Linked DNA regions of Homo sapiens: all the other regions are linked to region 2. Evidence: promoter capture Hi-C in 16 types of primary human blood cells and fetal thymus (Javierre and others, 2016). All regions are on one chromosome and are shown on one strand. Each heading gives the region's core, a stretch centred on a gene start or on the middle of the fragment in contact. The rest is flanking DNA. Distances are from core to core; before and after follow the strand shown. Region 1 overlaps E2F7 (E2F transcription factor 7). Region 2 holds the start of OSBPL8 (oxysterol binding protein like 8). Region 3 overlaps NAP1L1 (nucleosome assembly protein 1 like 1).

What was found. The method cuts DNA at HindIII sites, captures the fragments that hold promoters and counts their contacts. A CHiCAGO score of 5 or more calls a contact.
Region 1: a fragment that was not itself captured here is called in contact with the fragment with the promoter of OSBPL8 in region 2 in 1 of 17 cell types (fetal thymus); the score reaches 6.9 in fetal thymus.
Region 3: a contact is called between a fragment that was not itself captured here and the fragment with the promoter of OSBPL8 in region 2, in 2 of 17 cell types (naive CD8 T cells and total B cells). The highest score is 5.5, in naive CD8 T cells.

Annotation. Positions count from the first base shown.
Region 1 is chr12:77,054,656-77,057,355 of GRCh38, reverse strand. E2F7 (E2F transcription factor 7) reads left to right here. Exons shown (of 13, transcript NM_203394.3): 3 at 1,226-1,501. Among named protein-coding and RNA genes, the nearest start is that of E2F7, 9.6 kb to the left of the region's middle. The HindIII fragment of the contact is 1,509 bases long and covers 520-2,028 here.
Region 2 is chr12:76,558,502-76,561,281 of GRCh38, reverse strand. OSBPL8 (oxysterol binding protein like 8) reads left to right here and starts at 1,511. Exons shown (of 24, transcript NM_020841.5): 1 at 1,511-1,885. It overlaps LOC105369850 (a long non-coding RNA gene), which reads right to left and starts at 1,380. Exons shown (of 4, transcript NR_188081.1): 1 at 1,049-1,380. RefSeq lists a silencer at 1,681-1,870 and an enhancer at 2,281-2,590. The HindIII fragment of the contact is 3,809 bases long and covers 1,113-2,780 here.
Region 3 is chr12:76,049,826-76,052,525 of GRCh38, reverse strand. It overlaps NAP1L1 (nucleosome assembly protein 1 like 1), which reads left to right. Exons shown (of 15, transcript NM_004537.7): 12 at 1,873-1,995. Among named protein-coding and RNA genes, the nearest start is that of PHLDA1-DT, 19 kb to the right of the region's middle. The HindIII fragment of the contact is 3,492 bases long and covers 1-2,700 here.

The sequences.
Region 1 (2,700 bases), core at 25-2,524, 500 kb before region 2:
GCCTGTAATTCTAGCACTTTGGGAGGCTGAGGCAGGAGAATCACTTGAAGCCAGAAGTTCAAGACCAGCCTGGGCAACATGGCAAGACCCCGTCTCCACACAAAATTTTAAAAATTAGCTGGGTGCAGTGGTGTGCACACCACTGTAGTATGCACACCACTGGAAATCCCAGCACTTTGGGAGGCTGAGGTGGGAAGATCACTTGAACCCAGGAGTTTGAGGCTGCAGTTAGCTGTGATCATGCCACTGCCCTCCAGCCTGGGTTACAGAGTGAGACCCTATCTCCAAAAAATAAAATATAAGTATTTGGGTGTAGTGGTGCATGTCTGTGGTCCCAGCTACTTGGGAGGCTAAGGCGAGAAGATTGCACGTGCCCAGGAGTTTGAGGCTATAGTGAATTATGATCACACCACTGTACTCAGGCTGGGCAACAGAGTGAGACCCTATCTTTTAAAAAAAAAAAAAAAGTAAGAAAAATAAACCTCAGTAGCAATTCAGTATTGCCACCATATCTAAGCTTATGATTAGTGGTCTCTTCTTGTTGAAGAAGCTGTGGGTCAGTTTGAGTGACAAACTCAAATGGCAAATCACATCTGGTGGGAGTTGTGTTGCACATTAGTCCTGTGAAGTAAGGTCACATATCAGTTTGCAGGAGTTTGGAAATCTAAAAAAACGAGTCCTTTACCATGGGTAGTTTGAGATGCACTGCTCTGGAGAATGACGTTAGAGAGCTCTCTAGGTTGGCTTAAAATGTGGGATTTTGTTGGATGCTCTTCCATTAACTGGTCCTGCTACTAAGTGCTGTATTAGCACTGGTGCACATTGAACTACAGAAGCATTGTTGCTCTTCACTAGTCAATGCAAACTTGTAAGTAGTGTTTTAAAAAAGGTGACACTTAGAAACAATATGGACTCAACCCACATTGGCCCTCATAGTCCTCATCTGTTATAAACATGCAACAGTAACAGATACGTTGTGATTTCTTTTACAGAGATACCATGAAAGATAGGTGTAAAAGGAGTAGCAGAGTATAATCTACTTCTCATTGGAGCCACTCTTCTATTCCCATGACTACTTTTCGTTAGTCCTATCCTGATACTTTTCAGCCCTAAACATATGGTCCTATTTGTATTTTCAAGTCTTAGTGAATGGTGGGAACAAAGTATACTCTTAGCTGATACCTGCCCTTTCTCATTCTTGCTAAAAGTTTCTTTTTTAAAATAGGAAAATATATTTGTTGATCGATCAAGGATGGCCCCGAAGACTCCAATAAAAAATGAACCAATTGATTTATCGAAGCAAAAAAAATTTACTCCAGAAAGAAATCCCATTACTCCAGTTAAGTTTGTTGACAGACAGCAAGCGGAACCATGGACACCCACAGCTAACCTGAAGATGCTCATTAGTGCTGCCAGCCCAGATATAAGGGACCGGGAGAAGAAAAAGGGACTATTCCGACCCATTGAAAACAAGGACGATGCATTTACAGATTCTCTACAGGTAAACAGACTGTGCTCCTCAGGGATTTTTTAGAACTTAAACAATTTTACTTGATTATTAAAAAATCATAGAACTGTCAACTTTTCAGCTCCTATTGAGCCAAAAGCAGTGGCAAACTGAATATCTTTTGATTTGTAGTAGAATTCTCATTCTATCTTATTTTTCATAATGAATGCTTTCTTTTCTGTATGATACTCCCTGGACCAGGGCTCATTTAAAAATGATAAATTATTTTAAAGTAATGATATTTAATCATTTTTATTTAATGAAGGAATTTGGATTCTTTAAATGCTGCTGTGAATTTTAATTTTGCCCAGATTTTAGGGATAATGTTAATGTAAATATTTTTGATTTAGGAAATTCCATTATTCTTATATATGTTCAGTTGGTTAGTTTGGGGCTTTATTGAAGTTAAGCCATCTTTAAATTACCTGTTCTGTGGGGAACCAGTGCTGTTGAATAAGCAGCATGTCTATACTTCGTTAAAAAAAAAAAAAAAGGTAATTATTTTCACTTCCCATCAAGCTTTTTCTCAGACTTCCTAAGAAAAGTTTTGCAGATTTCAGTATTCTTAACCATTTTTCTCTTTTTGGCGGATTTTTCAAGCTATAAAAATTGCCAAAATGAAGAAATTGGGAAGAGAGAAAAAAGATGTCTCGAATTACAACTTGAAATTCATAGAACAGAATGAATTTAATCTGTTATATATCTTGCAGTGGTAGAGTAGCGGTAGTAGTAAGAGATTCTTTCATGTAACTAAATACAAATCACACAGTAGTTCCTATGTGCTTGAAGCCAGAGGAATTTCACAATTCCTTTTTTTAAGTCTGGGCTGTTCTTTGGCTTCCTTTCCGTCTTATGTTTGATGTGGATCACACAAGGAGCTGGTCTAAGGCCTTAGGTTCAAATCACTAGCTGGGTGAGTTGGGGATATCACTCAGGATCTCTGCATCTCAATTTACTCACCTGTAAAATGAGGGTCGTGGTACCTGTCCTGGTTTTATTGGGGTTCTAAAAACTAAATAAGATTAAATGTGCCTTTTGTTGTCAAAGGCATGTAAGTATTAGATTTTTTGTAATTTTTTTGACAAAAATATAGCAAAGTGAAAATCAGCCAATGGGAATCGTTAGTGACCTCTTTCGCAAGGTAACATTGTTGATCTCTTACTTTGGCAGAACTAGTTGTTTAACACGCCCCT
Region 2 (2,780 bases), core at 262-2,761:
TTTTGGGAGGTCGAGGCGGGTGAATCATTTGAGGTCACGAGTTCAACACCAGCCTTGCCAAAATGGTGAAACCTCCTCTCTACTAAAAATACAAAAATTAGCTGGGCATGGTGGCGCATGCCTGTAATCTCAGCTCCTTGGGAGGCTAAGGGAGGAGAATCGCTTGAACCGGGAGGCGGAAATTGCAGTGGGCCGAGATTGCGCCTCTGCACTCCAGTCTGGGAGACAGAGTGAGACCCTGTCTCAAAAAAAAAAGGAAAAAGATGTGGCTTAAAGGTGCCTTACATATCAGCGGTATGGCATAGTTTCATTGGCAGCCTTTGTTTTCTTTCTTGGGTAACATAAAACAATGTAAGTCTATGATTTTTTTAGAGCTGCTATGAAATATATTAATAATAATTATATAGGCCAAACTCTATTGCTTATTCATTTCAATGTATCCAGCTTATCAGAATGCCTTCTGATTTCTTGTTAAGAAAATGTAATGAGATGAGAATAGCTTAAGAAAAAAATCCTTAGTTCTGGGCTACAAGGGAAAATGAGTTATGACCCCAATTTAATTATTACAGAAAGCTTTCTCATTTGCCTTCATTGTGATCAGGGTTTGAGTATGATCTTTATTCTACCTCCCTTACTTCTGTATAGTTAGGATTTCATTAGGCGGCTAGAGGGTTCTTCGGATCATGGCTAAAAAAGAAAGCAAAAGGTTAAGTCCTAGAGTTAAGGAATTAGGAAAAAAAAATTAAGGCATTAGAAAAAAAATCAAGAATTAGGCTTTATTTTAAAAAATGGAACAAACTGTCAAATTCCTGCGTACCCGTTTAAACTGTCACCAACCTAACACACTGTAAAACTTAATGACTGTAAAACTGGCAGCAGGATCCTGAACATAACAAGGAACAAAAATAAGTTTGCTAGGCTGTTTTCATCCCAGCATGATTGAAATACACCGTTTCCTCAAAAAAAAAAAAACCTCTAATGAGGAAAGCAGTAAATTAAATGCCACGGTTAATGTGCCACTAGAAATAGGAACAAGTAGTTTAGTTACCGAATGCTTCTTAGGCCATACACTCTACACCACGATGCGTTCTTTTTTCTGTTTCGCTAAAGCTTTCACCAAGCCTAAGGCTGGAGAGGGGTCCTAACTGAGCCCTGACCAGACCAGGGAGCCCTACTGTGCAATCTCCTCAGGTTAGGAAGGGCCCAGTATGACCGGCCCAGAAGGCCTGGCCGATCAACAGGCGCTGGGCCGACGGTGGTGGGCTCGCTTCCTGAGGCTGCCCTTGGGCATGCGGAAGGGGACTGGCTGGCGATAACACCCTGGCGAAGCAAGGTGGACAGTGACTCCCGCCCGGTTCGAGCCCGCCTAGCAGGGGAAGCAACTCCACCACCGCCTCCGCGCACCGTCACGTGACGGGAAGAGGGCGTGGCCGAAGCCCGTGATCCGGGGGGCGGGCGGGGCAGGGGGAGGGCACTAGAATGTGAAGGATCTTCGCGGTTCTGGGTGCCCAGAAAGGCGGCGACGCGGCGGATGACAACATTAGGCCGCGACGCGCTCCTGGCCAGGCGGCGGCTGTAGTGTTAGCTTTGGACGCCGCAGTAGCCGCTGCCGGTAGCAAGCCGACTGAGGGAAGGTGGGGGTCCGCCCGGGCTGGTGGACCTCGGGGCCGAAAGTTCCCGCCCCGCTCGGGGGCTGAGCCGGCAGTGCCTCCGCGGCCGCTGGGCAGCGCCCTTCGTCCAGGCTCGCGCCCCAGCTGCCGCCGACGACAGCGGCCGAGAGAAGTTGGGGTCTGACTAGACGCTTACGGGGCCTCGGACCCCGGCGCCGCGGCGACCTCGGAGGAACCGGCTCCTTGCGTCCCGCCTCCCTGGGAGCTCCGCACGGGTGAGTGTTGCTCCATTCCTGAGGTTGGGGTGCTGGGTTCGCACCCCTCAGGGCGACTGCGCACCCTTATTGCCACGTTCTGAGCTCGGGCTGTCGGGGACTCCTGGCCACCCCCGCCGAGGAGTTCTTTGGCTCCTTTGTTCCCTTTTGGAGTAGGGGGATTGGAAAGGCTGGCAGGGTGGAGTGTTTAGGGGCCCACAGTAGGTGCATCTGCAGCCTTACAAAAGCCGCGGCAGGGGAACGGGGGTGGGAGGCTGTTGGAGCATTTCGACCGCCCCGGGTGTCTGTCCCTCCTGAAGTTTGATAGGTTGATGGCATGGGCCTCGTTGGGAGCCCCCGCGCCCAGGAGAGCTGGCGCTTTGTCGCTCGGTGCGGTTAAGGCGAGGCTCCTTCTTTCCTGTGACAGCCCCAGAGAAGGCTGTGCCGCGCACCGCAGACCGCACCCGCCTTTGCAGAGCCAAGCGACACGGTGTTGTTCCTCTAAGCCTCAGTTCTCCCGGCCTTCTTGTAACGTAGGAGGAAAGCCAAGCCTTTGCTGTGCTTTTAAATTTAATGTTTGTTTCTAAGCCCTCTCTCAAGAGTGGAATCAGGTTCCAAGGAGCTTCACAGGCAGCATGCTTTAGGTTCATTGAACCACCCACTCAAGACTGGCTGAGGCGAAGCAACAGTATATGCAGATTTTCCATTCACAAAAGTCATTTAACACTCTTCTTTATGAGACACATCTGCGTTGCAGAACGTAACCTAATTTCATTTTATTTAAATGCTTTCTGAAATAATAGGTAACTTGGACAACGTAAACAGATGGGTAAACTTTAACTGATAATGTAAGTATATATGCATTAAATAAAAAATTTAATGATGTTTTTGCCTTTCTGCTGCTAGAAGACTTAAA
Region 3 (2,700 bases), core at 133-2,632, 510 kb after region 2:
AGTTTGTACATATATGGAATTAGAAATTAACCTAAACTGAATACTTTTGAATTGGAATACTCTTGGCTAAGACTTAGAACAAATTTGTAAAAGGCAAAAGTAAGTATTTCTGGCTTGGCTTATAGGACAAAAAAAGAGAACATAAAGCAGTGTGAATTTCAGGTGAGAAAAACTACTTTAAGTATTAAGATAGAGCATCACACTATTTTCATATCAGTGGATGGGTTGGAGTTTGTGTTCAAGTTTGGGGTTTTTTTTTGTTTGTTTGTTTGTTTGTTACTAAATATTGATGATGACAAAACAGTCTAGTTAAGGATAGAAAACCTCCACCTGTGGTTTGAATTCCTCCCCACCCCCTTTTGGATTTTTCTATTTATTAGATTATGTTGTTGACTCAAACATTCATGGAATTCACAGAGGGTGTGCTCATTGTTTAGTATCATAGAACTTGTATCATTGTTTAGTATCATAGAAGTGGGATTATTTTATTTTATTATTATTATTTTTTTTTTGAGATGAAGTATTGCTCTGTCATCCAGGCTGGAGTGCAGTGGTGCGATCTCCACTCACCACAACCTCTGCCTCCCGGGTTCAAGCAATTCTCCTGCCTCAGCCTCCCGAGTAGCTGGGATTACAGGCACGTGCCATTGAACTCGCTAATTTTTGTATTTTTAGTAGAGACGGGGTTTCACCATGTTGGCCAGGCTGGTCTTGAACTCCTGACCTCAGGTAATCTGCCTGCCTTGGCCTCCCAAAGTCCTGGGATTACAGGCATGAGCCAGGCCAAAGTGGGATTATTTTAATTGTGAATAATGTCAGACCCACTTTTGCCCTGTGCTTTTCTATTAAATAGAAATCCTAAGCCAGGTACAGCTTCAGGCACCTGTAGTCCCAGCTGCTCTGGTGGCGGAGGTGGAAGGATCACTTGAGGCCAGCCTGGGCAACATAGCGAGACCCTGTCTCTAAAAAAGAAAAGTGCTAGGGGCACCTGATTTAGTTAGTATATTGTCTTTCTGAACTAGGACTGTCTCATTTGGGATTAGTAGACTTAAAACTGTACAGCTGTTTGGGTACTGTCTTTTAGGAACTATAAAGTGATCCTCTGTGGTTGTTTATTATGTCCTTCTATTTGCTATGTACTTAACAATATTAACAATAACTATATATTAACAATAACCCAAGGGTTTTTTTTTTTATTTTTCTATTTGGTGTTTTCAATAATATTTTAAAAGGAAAATTGCGGACATGTAACAGTTGCTTTTATGTATTTATGTTTAAACCAGCAAAAACTAAGCAGTTCTAATTTTTATTCTTCACAATTTATCTTAGTATGCATACTGGCCTGCTAGCTTATTTTCTTTTTGTTAAAAACTTGGAAAAGTTATTAAGGAAATTTAAAAATGACAAATCATTTGTTAACATGGTGTGAGAAAAATCATGGAAAGTAAAAAGTAAAGTTGAGCATTTCTTCCCTTCATCATATAATTTAAACTGAAGAGTCTGTCTTTTTTTTTTTTTTTTTTCGGTTGCCCAGGCTAGAGTACACTGGTGTGATCACAGCTCATTTCAGCCTCAAGCTGCTGGGCTCCAGCAATCTTCCCACCTCAGCCTCTCAAGTAGCTGAGACTACAGGCGTGTGCCACCCTGCCCAGTTAATTGTTTATTTTTTGTACAAACGCAGGGGGCGTCTCACTATGTTGCTTAGGTTGCTCTTGAACTTCTGGGCTCAAGTGATCCTCCTACTTTGGCCTCCTGAAGTGTTGGGACTACAGTTGTGAGCCATCACACCCAGCCTCTAAGAGTCTTACATGTGCCAAATTAAGTAACACAGTTATTCCTAAATTTTCTGCTTTTGTTTTCCTTTAAAAATAGGATGATGATGCTGAAGCTATCCTTGCTGCAGACTTCGAAATTGGTCACTTTTTACGTGAGCGTATAATCCCAAGATCAGTGTTATATTTTACTGGAGAAGCTATTGAAGATGATGATGATGATGTAAGCGAATTTGAATCCTGCAAAGAAATAATTGGTTGAGGGTATAGTGGTCAGAATTGGTAATAGATTAGTTTAGTTTTTAAGAAGCAGGACATAATATAATTCAAAATTAGGCTAATTACTGATGTTCTGTATATAGCTTTTCTGGGTTTTAAGTATGTCTCCTTAGGATTTTTGGATTCATTTATCTTAGCTTTTAATTTTCTGCTAATAAGATTGTTCTGAGTTTATGAAACTTTTTTATGTTTGGTTAGTGCTATAGATCTATTATGCCCTTGCCTTGACTTCACAGAGCTAGGACTTTCTTTAGTGCACAAGAAAACATTTACTGGGAGGCATAGAATTTCTATTCAAGGTAGTATTGAATGATGGTTAGGTTAAGATTAGGTTGCATATAGATGTTTTGAATATGTTTATTGCTCAACGGCAATTGTTAGAGTAGGCTTTAGGTCCTTTTCGTACAGTGCATTCCACACTTAAGTGTAGGTGAGTAATATTTACAGTAATACTTGTCTGATCATCCACTTTATCCACATGATTGTACTCTGTTCTTTAATTTTATAAATTGGCAGTGAGCAGAGTGATTCTTGCAGCTACTATGTGTTTTAATTTATAATCAGCCCCTTGATAGGAAAGTAGGTTTTCTCTTTTTAGACACTAGTTTATACAGTGATAAATGTTACTGATGCTACTCTGAAATGTGTG